2 separate regions of the Homo sapiens genome follow, and region 2 is linked to region 1. The links are contacts of gene promoters, found by promoter capture Hi-C in blood cells and fetal thymus (Javierre and others, 2016). All regions are on one chromosome and are shown on one strand. Each heading gives the region's core, a stretch centred on a gene start or on the middle of the fragment in contact. The rest is flanking DNA. Distances are from core to core; before and after follow the strand shown.

Region 1 (2,552 bases), core at 26-2,525:
AAAAATTAGCTGGGTGCGGTGGTGTGCGCCTGTAATCCCAGCTACATGGGAGGCTGAGGCAGAAGAATCAGTTGAACCAGGGAGGTGGAGGTTGCAGTGACCGGAGATCACGCCACTGCACTCCAGCCTGGGTGACAGGAGTGAAACTCTGTCAAAAAAAAAAAAAAAAGTCATCAAGCAGTTAAGATTAGATTAAAATGCAGTAATCTAATCTTAATTAGATTAGATACTTAGATACCTTTATTTAAAATTTTTTAAAAGTGGAGATAATAGTACCTACTTCCCAGCATCATTGTGACGATTAAATGTGCTCAGCAGGTTGCATAATTGTTTCTGATCTAGCTAGTATCCAGTATTTGTCTATTGTCACAGGTGGTGACTGCTGGAGGGGCTGAGTCCCCAATAAGCTGTGAATGTCTTGGAGGACAAGTATGTTGGCCCCTTCTTGTTCTAGCAGTGAAGAGGATCCCATGTAGACTCCAAGCAGCTCAAGTTCAGCAAGGGAGACAGACCATTGCAAGTGCATGAAAAGGGCACTGGTGGGCTGGGAAGTTCGTAGGAGGAGCCTCTCACATGCTGGGTTTGGGGAGGAATTCTGGAAAGCAGTTAGTCTTAGGGACGGGAAGGATGTAGCTGGTGGGACAGGCGCCCTCAGCTCCATGAATAAAAGGAGTGGGTCTGACTCTGGTTCTCATTCCCCTTTACCATGCCTGGCACACATTAGACCATCAATACCAATTGACTCCAGGAAGGAGTGTCTCCCCGTGGGGGCATCAGGAGCCGCTGAGTTTAAATACACAGGTGGGATGTGACACACTGGGAACCATTCAGATTTGCTGGATCTGGATAGGGCTTGTCAGGACTCAGTGCTTCCAACCCCAGGGCCCATTTCCCTGTGGCCCCTGAGTCACCACCATGGGTGGACAGCTGCTCCAGTGCCAAGATACAGCCACAGAGGACGGCAGGCCCAGGGCCTCCAGAAGGACAGGCAGGCTCCCTCTGAAAGACAAGCCGGCTTATAGCTGAAACCTCTGGCCCAGGCGTCCTCTAAGGGAAGCCAGGCGGTGTCAGGGCACGGCCCATGAAGACATAAGATGAAGATGGGGAGAACCAGAGGGGGTGCGCTTCGAAGGAAAGCGGGCTGCGTGGGGGCACCGTCGATTGCACAGGACGCGGTCCCGGCTCGCGTAGCCCCGCAGGCGGCGCCAGAGCGCAAGCCCGCCTCGTGACTCCGGTCCACAGTCCGGCCGGGCGGAGCTAGGGGCGGGCCCCTGCGTCTCTGGGCGCTGGAGCGCGGCGACTATCACGCCGCGTGGCGGACGGACGGACTGACGGACGCGCAGCCTTACCCGAAAGGCCATGGCGGAGCACGCCCCTCGCCGCTGCTGCCTGGGCTGGGACTTCAGCACGCAGCAGGTACAGTCGCCTGGCCGCAGGGCCACGGGGCCGCCTCCTCCGCTTCGGTGGGGGTAGGGGGCGGGCTGTCACCCGGACGCGGGAAAACATGGGCCCGGCCGCGGGCGCGCCTACCTCTCGGGCTTCCCGGGGCCCCCGCGCCCCTGCCCTGCGCGCGGCCGTGGGGCGCCGGTGCCCTCGCCCGGAGATGCCCTGCCAATGCCACCCGCTCGCAAGATGCGGCCTCGACCCCGCCTGGACCCAGCTACCCCAGGAAACTGCAGGCGCTCCTCGGCAGGACCCCCGGTGCCCAGAGGGGCCGGAGGACTCGGCGGGTTCCTGCGCTGTTCTGGGCACCCAGTGACGGGGATCCGAAGGAAGTCAGCTACTGTAAGGCAGGGGAACAGACAGGCGGGTAGCCCTGCGCACATGCACAACCAGTGACCTGGAAGCAGATTATAGCCCAAAACCTTTTTTTAAAAATTGAAATGGCCCAGGCCTGGTGGCTCTTGCCGGTAATCCCAGCACTTTGGGAGGCCGAGGCGAGTGGATCGCTTGAGCCCAGGAGTTCGAGACCAGCCTGGGCAATATGGAGAAACCCCGGTCTCTACCAGAAAATACAAAAATTAGCCGGGCATGGTGGAGCACACCTGTAGTCCCAGTTTTTCTGGAGGCTGAAGCGGATCGCTTGAGCCCAGGAGGTGGAGATTGCAGTGAGCTAAGATGGCGTCACCGGTCTCCAGCCTGGGCGACAGAACGGGACCCTGTCTCAAAAAAAAAAAAAGAAAAAAGTGAAATGCATAGTGTACAAGTGGACTTTACCCTGTGACCGCCCTTCGTTGACACCAGCTTGCCTGGTCTGTGCACCCAGGACTGCTGGCCAGAGGAGCAGTGTGCTGCTGCCAACGCCCTGCAGACAGGCAAGCAAATCAAAATTTGCCTTCAAAGAGGGCATGGGGTGACCGGGGGCACCTTTTCCTTTAAAGTACTTGGGAAATATACACAGTTGCAGTCAAACCCCTCTTCTCGAATGGGTCAAGGGAGGCAGGCCTCTGGCCAGTCCTTGGGGGAACGTCCTGTGGGACTCTGGATGACTCGAGTTGCCTTGCTGGACCTCAGTTTTCCCATCTGTCCAGGAAAGGAGTTATACTCCCAAG
Region 2 (2,552 bases), core at 15-2,514, 300 kb after region 1:
GCACACGCGGCCGCGGACAGACAGACATAGGCGGGGGTACACACACGGCGACCCGGCGACGCTTCACCACAGATGGCCACCCACGCGGACGCGGACAGGCTCACATTAACAAACACTGGCATACACACCAGCACCCGCCAGAGTATACACACACACACACGCAACCTTGCTGACTTGGGAAGGCTACCAGACACCCACCCACCCACGTGGACACGGGCATACACTGACACTCATGCCGAGACAGACACACGCTGCCATAGGCATACCTGCACTGACACAGACACACACATGCACCCTGAGACAGATACACACCCCCACACACCCACACAGACACAGACAGACACATCATTGACACACACTGACACTGAGGAAGACACTCTGACAAACTTAGACACCCACATGACTTAGACACACATCCACTGACACACTGACACAGAGACACACACACTCACTCGAACCACACTTTCCTGGAGACACACTTAGTGATGCCACAGAAATCTGCACAATGGTACACATCTACCTGAACACACGGACGCACATGCTGACAGAACCAAACACACACCCAGACCCAGAAGCAAGCAGGCAACCAACACAGAGACACCCACACACGCGCGCGCGCAAACACACACACACACATACATATATATACATGTATATACCTCTTTATATATATACTTCCACCCTCTTGAGCCACATACAACCTTCACCTTGACACATGCAGAGCCTGGAGTCACATACTTACACACCCACTGTTTCTCACTCAGAGACATGGTCACAGGCACACACACACGGAGACATACGCTGACAAACAGTTGCTCCCATGCCCATGCCCAGGACCTATGGGGACACACTTCTTGTTTAAACAAAACAGGCCATCAGGGCAACCCGCTTGGGTCCCCTTCCACGCTGTGGAAGCTTTGTTCTTTCCCTCTTCACAATAAATCTTGCGCTTCTAAAAACAAAAACAAAAACAAAACAAAACAACAACAAAAAACAGGCCATCAGCTTTTGCCCACGAAAAAAGTACAGTCATTGGAAGGGATGGTACACTTTTCTGCCACATTTTCAGGGCTCCCAAAAGCAAGAACCGCTCTTAGAGAGCCAAATGGGTGCCAGGGTCTCAGAGGGCACAGAGGTGCTGGGTTTGGGAGCCCAGAGGCTGGGACCTGCTCCTCCATGATGGGGATCTTGAAGAGGTGGGAGGGCAAAGAGGGGGGTGGGGGACAGCGTCCGTTTGCGACCTGGGTGTGGGGCTTCGTTGGACGCCTTAGGTACATACGGAGGGGCTGCTCTGCTTGCAGGAGGGGATCAGTAGGAAAGTCAGTCCACAGGAAAGTTCAGGACATGGGCCTCTCCGGCCCCGAGTTGAGTGGGGTGTCTGGGGTACAGACGGATGGACCACACAGGTCGGCTGCCAGCCTTTAGCGCCTGACGAGCCTCAGGTTGGCTAGCAGCTCCCACTATCGGCCAGAAGGGGAAGTGCAGGCAGTGTCAACGTTTCAACCCACGTGCAGCCGCCTTCCCAGAGTCACACCTACCAGGCAGGAGAGTACAGTAGCAGGAAGGTCCTACCTCCCCTAAGAACTTCCATCACGGGCTTCTCGGCCTCAGAATGAAGCTTCTACTTGCAAACTGACATTGGGTCAAGCAGGAGACAAGGCTAGGATAGAAGCTGCTGGGAGTAGGGGTGGATACCTGCCTCCCTTCCGTCCATATGTAGCAGAAGTGGGGTTTTCACTCTCCTGTTTAGTATTGGGCAACTGGATGTTGCCAGCAGGAGAGGTGGGCTGAGCCTGGTAAGTCTACATGCACCCTGAATTTAAACAGGGGGAGAGAAGCCCAGGGGATGGGGAACCAGAGCTCTGAACCTGTAGAAGTTCATCCATAAAAGCACACCTTGTGGTCCTAGAGAGGCCTCAGAGTGCAGAGACAGGCAACAGGTGTCTGGAGACAGGCACTTCCTACAAAGAGCCCTTGCCAAGATCTTGGCTACTCCCTTCTCTTTGCCAGACCCTATTTAAATTTTTTGTTTTGTTTTGTTTTGTTTTGTTTGAGACGGAGTCTTGCATTGCCTCCAGGGCTGAAGTGCAGTGGCGTGATCTCGGCTCACTGCAACCTCCGCCTCCCCAGTTCAAGCAATCCTCCTGCCTCAGCCTCCTGAGTCTCTGGGATTGCAGGTGCTCGTCACCATGCCCAGCTAATTTTTTGTATTTTTAGTAGAGACGGGGTTTCACCATGTTGGCCAGGCTGGTCTCGAACTCCTGACCTCGTGATTTACCCACCTCGGCCTCCCAAAGTGCTGGGATTACAGGCGTGAGCCACCATGTCTGGCCAACCCTATTTAATTAAAGCAATAACAGGAACATGTTGTCAGCTGTCAGAGATAAATGTTTTTAAAAACTAGTATGTCCTTTATTCGCCCCTCAGTTTCGCCCAGGGTTTGCCTTTACTTTGCCTCAGGTTCAAAGCTGGGTTAACCATATCATTACTCCTCTCTTGTGTTTTTGTTTTATTTCTTCCCCCATCATCACTCCACTGCCATCTCCTTCTCC

The links. Contacts are between HindIII fragments. The CHiCAGO score rates a contact against its expected background, and 5 or more counts as called.
Region 2: a contact is called between a fragment that was not itself captured here and the fragment with the promoter of XYLB in region 1, in 2 of 17 cell types (non-activated CD4 T cells and naive CD4 T cells). The highest score is 8.2, in non-activated CD4 T cells.

Annotation. Positions count from the first base shown.
Region 1 is chr3:38,345,510-38,348,061 of GRCh38, forward strand. XYLB (xylulokinase) reads left to right here and starts at 1,276. Exons shown (of 19, transcript NM_005108.4): 1 at 1,276-1,416. The coding sequence starts at 1,360. RefSeq lists enhancers at 1,053-1,884, 1,885-2,552 and silencers at 1,443-1,682, 1,693-1,752. The HindIII fragment of the contact is 4,748 bases long and covers 1-2,550 here.
Region 2 is chr3:38,649,930-38,652,481 of GRCh38, forward strand. No RefSeq gene overlaps it. Among named protein-coding and RNA genes, the nearest start is that of SCN5A, 1.5 kb to the left of the region's middle. The HindIII fragment of the contact is 703 bases long and covers 914-1,616 here.